Regions from separate parts of the Homo sapiens genome. Here region 2 is linked to region 1. Evidence: promoter capture Hi-C in human tissues and cell types (Jung and others, 2019). All regions are on one chromosome and are shown on one strand. Each heading gives the region's core, a stretch centred on a gene start or on the middle of the fragment in contact. The rest is flanking DNA. Distances are from core to core; before and after follow the strand shown. Region 1 holds the start of SRSF6 (serine and arginine rich splicing factor 6). Region 2 overlaps SERINC3 (serine incorporator 3).

Region 1 (4,038 bases), core at 1,026-3,525:
CACCTCAGGTTGGGAGTTCGAAACGAGACCAGCCTAACATGGTGAAACCCCGTCTCTACTAAAAATACAAAATTAGCTGGGCGTGGTGGTGCATGCCTGTAATCCCAGCTACTCGGGAGGCTGAGGCAGGAGAATCACTTGAACCCAGGAGGCGGAGGTTGCAGTGAGCCGAGATGGCACAGGTGTGAGCCACAGAGCCTGGCCTGGGCTGCGTTCTTTCAGGAGGCTCTGGGGCGAATCTGTTCCCTCGTGTCTTCCAGCTTCCAGAGGCTACTGGCACCCTTTGGCTTATGGTTCCTTCCTCCATCTTCAAAGCCATTAACTTCGGTTGTGACTTTCTTACAGCCAATCACTCTGACCCCAATCCCAGCCTCCTTTGTCACATCTGCTTCTCTGACTGTGGCTCTCCTGTCCCCCTCTTGTAATCACCCTTATGATCACATGGGGCCCACCTGGACAATCCCGGGGCATCTCTGCATCTCAAGATGCTCAACTTAATCAGATCTGCAAAGTCCCTTTTGACATACAAGGTAACATCTTCACAGGTTTCAGGGATTAGGATTAGGATTAGGACATAGACATCTTTAGGGGGAACCCTTATTCTGCCTACCGAGGTGAAGAGGTGAAGCCGGCTGGGCTTCTGGGTTGGGTGGGGACTTGGAGAACTTTCCCGTCTAGCTAAAGGATTGAAAACACACCAATCAGTGCTCTCTGTCTAGCTAAAGGTTTGTAAACACACCAATCAGCACTCTGTAAAAACGGACCAATCAACATTCTGTAAAATGGACCAATCAGCAGGATGTAGGCAGGGCCAAATAAGGGACTAAAAACTGGCGGTCCAGCCAGCAGTGGCAACCCGCTCGGGTCCCCTTCCACGCTGCGGAAGCTTTGTTCTTTCCTTCAGGCAGGTTGGAGTCTTGCTTTGTCACCCAGGCTGGAGTGCAGTGGCATGATCATAGCTCACTGCAGCCTCGAACACCTGGGCTCAAGAGATCCTCTTGCCTCAGCTTCCCAAGGTGTGGGGATTACAGACTCGTATTTTTTATTTATCTAACTTTAAGCACGGCCTCTACCTCCCCCAGTCGTGACAAACAACGTTTCCCTCTAGACTTCCAAATAGCTCCAGGAGGACAAAACCCCCCTTTTTCAACCCGAAGCTTAAGGATATTGAGGTTGCACCACTCAAAACAGAGCAGGAATACATAAATATCTAAAGAGCTGGTGTTATCTCAGTGATATCCCTTTTTTTTTTTTTTTTTTTTTTTAGCTTCGGCGGTGACACCTACTCTCCTGGTCTTCTCCCTACCTCGCTAGTCACTCCTCCCAGTCTCCTTTCCTGCGCTTAAATTTCAGAGTACCCCAGGCGTTGGCCTGGGTCTTCCGCTCTCCACTTAAACTTACTCCTTTGAGGTTTTCAATCTGGTTCTACAGCTTTAAATAGCATCTCCATTGATAAACTCACAAAATAAGGCACTTTCAAGTCAGTGGAGGAAATGATAGTATTGGGACAAAGGACTTTCCATACACGGGAGAAAAAAAATCGTTCGTCGCTGTGGGAGGGCTGCCGGGTCTCGTCCACGCTCCCTTTTGAGCACCTACAGTGAGCGTAGGATTGCCACGGATAGCCCAATCCACAAGTGAGTCAAGCTGCCAGGGCTCCAAGAAAGACCCATGGAGGGAGAGGGGAACGTCCGGGGAGGCGAAGGCTGCGAGTGAGACCCGGAGAGGCTGATGTCGGCGGGTCTGCGCGCTCGCAACGCGACCTCCGCCCGGTCAGCAAGACCTCGGCGCGCGATCCTCAGATTCTGCGAAACAAGACAAGCGACTGGGTCCGAGACCGCGGTCCCCATCAAAACGAGCATCAACCAATCGCTGGGAGAAATCCGCAGCCTCGTTTTAAGCCACCAAGCAGAGACCGCGGCGACCTATTATGATAACCTCGAGAACCAATGAAAAACGGGGATTCGCTCAGCCCGCCTCCCGAGCTTCAACCCCGAAGAGATCGCGCACAGTTTTATAAAAGGTACAAATTAGAAAGCAGTTCTGCGGCTGGATTAGAGACATTGTGTTTTCAAAGACGGTGGGGAGGGCTAGAGAAAAATCCTAGAAGCTAGCAAGACCGCACTACACCGAAACGTCGCGGGCAACGGACTCGCCAGTCACCATCTAGCCCAGGGACGACGCGGGACGGACGTGCCGCTGCGCGCTGACATCACGCTCCAGGCCCCGCCCCACCGGCCGCCCATATAGCGAAAGCCTGGCGCGCGCGCGCGCCATTGTGTGGCTGGACTCGGCCGCCCCTGTGGTGTGAGGCGCGTGTTCGGGCTCTTGCCGTCCCCGCACCCGCACCGCGGTTACTGGCTTGCGGTCCGCCGTTCGACAACCAGCCCTTGGGTCCCCGCCCGCCACGGACATGCCGCGCGTCTACATAGGACGCCTGAGCTACAACGTCCGGGAGAAGGACATCCAGCGCTTTTTCAGTGGCTATGGCCGCCTCCTCGAAGTAGACCTCAAAAATGGGTGAGTCGGGCCTGGGCGCCCGCGCCCAGCGTCCCAGGCCTGGTGGCGGCGGGAACTCTCCAAGGAAAGAAGCGGCCAAGGCCGCGGCGCCGCGTGGCAGGGCCTCAAAGATGGCGACGGCGCGGCGTCGCGGGGGCGCGCGGTGGGGTACGGGCGCGCGCACGTGCGCGTCCTGGCTAACGACTCCCCCGCGGTTGTCCGGCCCTCGCACCGCCCCTAGGTACGGCTTCGTGGAGTTCGAGGACTCCCGCGACGCCGACGACGCCGTTTACGAGCTGAACGGCAAGGAGCTCTGCGGCGAGCGCGTGATCGTAGAGCACGCCCGGGGCCCGCGTCGCGATCGCGACGGCTACAGCTACGGAAGCCGCAGTGAGTCCCACCCCCGCGCGCTCCGCGCCCTTGGGGACCCTGGGGGCGGGGGTGGGTGGGGTGGGGCCTCCCAGCCCGGGCAGGCGCGAGGGCCGGGGGTCGTTTGACTTGGGTGTCCCCGAGCCCCGCTGCCTTCACGTCTGCCCGGGGCAGCCATGGGACGCCGGAGCGCGGGGATTGGGTTTGGGTGTTTGGTTTTGTTTATTTGCCAAGTTGGGAGGTGGGTGGCTTCTTCTGGCCCCTTGTCAGCACTGTCACGGGTTCTTCCCACAGAGGAAGTAAGGGGTGGCTGTATTTGTTGTATTCTCCTTACTTACCTATCAGTGCATTAGTTAGAGGTTCGGGGGCAGGCTCGGGTGGAGGTGGGGTAGGGGGCGCGGGGGACGGGGAAGGGGAGGAGCATAAAGTATAGGTCTTAAAGCTATGGAACTTGATGGGGGCCAAAGAATGTACTATTTTTAAGTAATGTGGTATTGTACCACAAAGTAGATCTAAATAAGCTTTATGCTGTATTTGAACTAATTGGGGCATGTTATTGGGAGGAGGTTGGGGGGATTTTTGGTTATGTTAAATGTTTGATGTTTAAATTGTTGCATGTTGAATTCAAACTTTTTAACAAGTCCTTGATGTTTCAATTTGAAAGTGACCAATGGGGCTGAGGCTGTGTCCACTGAGGCTAAGATGACTGCCTTTCCTGATTGGCCTTGGCTTTTCCATACATTGTGTGACCCTTGCCCTATGACCCTTTGGCTGACCTTACCGGAAGCCATGACGACAGCAGCCTTTTGCCATTAGACGCAGGGTGATGGTGAGGATTCCAAGGGTTAGACAAAACTGGTTAATCTGAACTAGGTGACTGTTACCTTGCGTGTTTTGTGGCCAAACCACCACCAAAAACCTCACACTGTGATGTAAGTACTTAGTGTAAAACTAGTAAACATTTTTGTAAAATGTAGAAATGCATGTAATCAGTTAAGTTTTATATTTTACAATGTTCTGTAAAATAAAACTTAGCGAGGTAAATCGAATAAAGGAGCAGTCACTCTCTAACAGATTGTAGGAGAGGTTTAGTTGGATTTAGTCTATTTGACTTGCCCTTAATTTAATTTTATGGCAAATCACAAATGTGTCGAAGGTTTAGCAATATAA
Region 2 (4,046 bases), core at 13-2,512, 1.0 Mb after region 1:
CAAGTAACCTTCTGTTCAGTTAGCTCGCAAAAGAACCCAGAAAGACCAAGCAAGTACTACTGGTTCTCAACGCATTTCACAATCCTAGAAATTCCTGTGCATCACACAAGGACTTTGATTTTCCACTCCCTTGGTGTAGTGAAAAGATCTAAGATCAGCTCTGCAACTAATTAGTAGCTGGGAGAGGCCTATCACTTCTTTGAGACTTCTGTTTTCTCACTTTTAAAAGGAAAGGTGATGTCTAGATAGAATTTTCATATTTCATATCTATAACTCCATGAATTTTTTTAAACGGTTTTTTTTTCTTTTTTTTCTGAGACGGAGTCTCGCTTTTGTCACCCCGGCTGGAGTGCAGTGGTGCGATCTCAGCTCACTGCAACCTCCTCCTGGGTTCAAATTTCTCCTTGCCTCAGCCTCCTGAGTAGCTGGGATTACAGTGCCCGCCACCACACCCGGCTAATTTTTGTACTTTTAGTAGAGATGGGGTTTCGTCATGTTGGCCAAGCTGGTCTTGAACTCCTGACCTCAGGTGATCTGCCCGCCTTGGCCTCCCAAAGTGCTGGGATTACAGGCATGAGCCATCACGCCAAGCTGGAGTTTCGCTCTTATTGCCCAGGCTGGAGTGCAATGGCGCAATCTCAGCTCACTGCTACCTCCGCCTCCAGGGTTCAGGCTATTCTCCTGCCCCTCAGCCTGCCAAGTAGCTGGGATTACAGGTGTGCGCCCCCACGCCTAGCTAATTTTGTATTTTTAGTAGAGATGACGTTTCACCATGTTGGTCAGGCTGGTCTTGAACTCCTGACCTCAAGTGATCCACCCGCCTTGGCCTCCCAAAGTGCTGGGATTACAGGCGTTAAGCCACCACACCCAGCCTAAACTATGGTATTTAGAACTCAAGAGCATGAGTTTTGTTTTGAAATATTAAAATCAATTATTTTTCAGTTTAATTCCCCTAAAATATCTTGGCTAATGACTCATAAGAATCATTCCCAGCCACATGCGGTGGCTCACAACTGTAAAACCAGCACTTTGGGAGGCTGAGATGGGTGGATCACCTGAGGTCAGGAGTTCGAGACCAGCCTTGCCAACATGGTGAAACCCCGTCTCAACTAAAAATACAAAAATTAGCCGGGCATGGTGGCAGGCGCCTGGCCAAGGCTGGAGAATCACTGGAACCCAGGAGGTGGAGGTTGTAGTGAGCTGAGATTGCACCATCGCACTCCAGCCTAGGGGACAAGAGTGAGACTTTGTCTCAAAAAAAAAAAAAAAAAAAGACTCATTCCCGGCCAGGCGTGGTGGCTCACGCCTGTAATCCCAGCACCTTGGGAGGCCGAGGCGGGTGGATCACGAGGTCAAGAGTTCAGCCTGGCCAAGATGGTGAAACCCTATCTCTACCAAAAATACAAAAACTGGCCAGGCCCGGTGGTGGCTGCCTGTGATCCCAGCTACTCGGGAGGCTGAGGCAGAGAACTGCTTGAACCCAGGAGGCAGAGGTTGCAGTGAGCCGAGATTGTGCCACTGCACTCCAGCCTGGTTGACAGAGCGAGACTCCATCTCAAAAAAAAAAAAAAAAAAAAAAAAAAGCACTATAAATTTTCAAGTTACCTGGGTTTTTTTTTAATGATAGTGAAATTCATTTAATTATGATATAGGCATGAAATAGAATTATGAAGACTTTATAATATGGAAAAATGTTCAAGTGGATAAACTTAGACATAAATTCATAAGAAAGGGTACCTAGATTTTAAGCTTAGAATTAAAAACCTTTCACAGGAGAAAGAAGTAGTAAACAATCATACCTGAATTTTTGGGTGGATCGATATAATAGAAGCCACAACGCAAAGGATCAGGTTAATACTGATGAAGAACTTGTTTTCTGTGCAGCCATCTGGTTTGGTGTAATATGTATAGAGCAGCCCGACACAGATGATTGACAGGATATAAAAGGCGCTTGTGAAAGACAGTAAAGCTGGAGAAAGGGAAACCAATATGAATGACCACAACTATAATAAACTAATAATGAAGGCCAATTTTCTTCCACTCCATATAAAAATGAGGAGACATTATGTCACTTTTCTGGGGTAATTTACAGTAAAATTACAGAGGTCTCAAGGTTAAAGTATCAAGATTGTATTCAATTGGCTTGATGTTAAATTCCAAAATCCACCAAGCAACTGAATTCACTTCCTGAATTACCTGATTTGATTTCATGGGTTGATTACCAGACATTTGATCATTCCAGCTAGAGTTTACTGCTACCTATATGTTAATTAATGTGTATTGTGAGCTTTTCTTAGGAACCTAAATGATTCCTTTACCCTCAAAATGACCCAGTTCACAGCAAGCTCCATGCCAGGATGGTGTTAGAGGAAAACAGAATACACACACTGGTATCTTTTTATGACAGTTTTTTCCTCTGCAGCCATTGGCTATCTAAATCCATTTCCCATCACAAACAATAAGACTGTCCCTGAACTGGAAAAGTGGCTCATTTGCTATTTTTTAATATCTAAAGTAATGGTCTTTTCCATTCACACTAAAAATCAACAATTAGCTGTGTTGGCTGAACATGGTGGCTCATGCCTGTAATCCCAGCACTTTGGGAGGCCAAGGTGGCTGGATTGCTTGAGCCTGAGTTCCAGACCAGCCCAGGCAACATGGCCAAACCCTGTCTCTACAAAAAATACAAAAATCAGCCAGGCATGGTGGCATAAGGCTGTAGCCCCAGCTACTTGGGAAGCTGAGGCAGGGGGATTGCTTGAGCCCAAGACATAGAGGTTGCAGTGAGCCGAGATGGTGCCACTGCACTCCAGCCTGGACAACAGAACAAAACCCCATCTCAAACAACAAACAAAACAATTAGCTGTGTAGCTCTGAAAATTAGAAAACATGAAACAGCACATACAGTACACTCAGACCAACTGCAAGAATGATGAGCTCAGCTAACTTGTATTCAAGTCAAAGCCCAGATTAAGAAAACTAGTTTCTACTTATCTCAATGAATTTTGCATGTCTAAAATTAAATGATGTACATTAAGTTACTAGCACACTTAATGTTTTCACCTCTGAATATACAAGATTTTTCTACACTTAGTTACTGTAAAGTATGACCAATTTGCAACTCAATAAATTCTTCTAGAGTTGTATGATCCAAAATGAATTAAAGAAAATAACAGCCGGGTGTGGTGGCTCACGCCTGCAATCCTAACACTTTGGGAGGGCAAGGCAGGTGGATCGATTGAGTCCAGGAGTTCCGGCAACATGGCAAAACCCTGTCTCTACAAAAAACACAAAAATTAGCCGGTCGTGGTGGTGTAGGCGTGGTAGTGTGGGTGTGGTGGTGTGCACCTGTAGTCCCAGCTACTTGGGAGGCTGAGGTGGATAGCTTGAGCCAGGAAGGCAGAGGTTGCAGTGAGCCATGATTGTGCCACTGTACTCCAGCCTGGGTGAGAGAGTGAGACCCAATCTCAAAAAAAAAGAAAAAAAATAGATAAAAATAAAATTGTCATTACAAACAATTTAAATGACCAACACTAGGGTAAAGGTTAAATAAATTATGGTATACTCCGCTATGGAATGCCATGGAATTGTATGGAATGGAATACCATGCAGCTTACAGTAAACTCCATGCCAGGAGCTTGAATGCAGGTTAAATGAGTAAGACATACCTACACTCACTGGTAAGGAAGGATATTCATCATGTAGGAAGTGAAAAGAGCAAGTCATGGAACAACATACAGTACAATCCTGTTTACATTTAAATACAAAAGCAAGGTGAATGCATAAATACATAAAGGTTCACAAGAGTGGCTACATCTGGAAAGGAAAATGGGTTGCAGATAGGTGGAGATTTGCATGTTTTAGTCTTTATAAAGTTCTATCATTTGTCTTTATGGTAAACATAGTATTTTTAAAAACATGTAAATATTTTAAAAAACTAAATCAAATGAAAATAAAACTGCGCAATTCAATAGTATGTACTGAAAGCATTTTAAAATATTCATACACTTTGACTCTTCTATTTCTGGGAATCTGTCCTAAGGAAA

Evidence for each region. Contacts are between HindIII fragments. The study calls those that stand out against the background at their distance.
Region 2: a contact is called between a fragment that was not itself captured here and the fragment with the promoter of SRSF6 in region 1, in 1 of the 25 tissues and cell types used here (hippocampus).

Annotation. Positions count from the first base shown.
Region 1 is chr20:43,455,621-43,459,658 of GRCh38, forward strand. SRSF6 (serine and arginine rich splicing factor 6) reads left to right here and starts at 2,276. Exons shown (of 6, transcript NM_006275.6): 1 at 2,276-2,520; 2 at 2,741-2,889. The coding sequence starts at 2,414. RefSeq lists enhancers at 1,613-1,932, 1,993-2,152, 2,074-3,021, 2,453-2,552 and silencers at 2,693-2,792, 2,803-3,062. The HindIII fragment of the contact is 8,319 bases long and covers 1-4,038 here.
Region 2 is chr20:44,505,028-44,509,073 of GRCh38, forward strand. It overlaps SERINC3 (serine incorporator 3), which reads right to left. Exons shown (of 10, transcript NM_006811.4): 6 at 1,800-1,969. Among named protein-coding and RNA genes, the nearest start is that of SERINC3, 15 kb to the right of the region's middle. The HindIII fragment of the contact is 4,386 bases long and covers 1-3,455 here.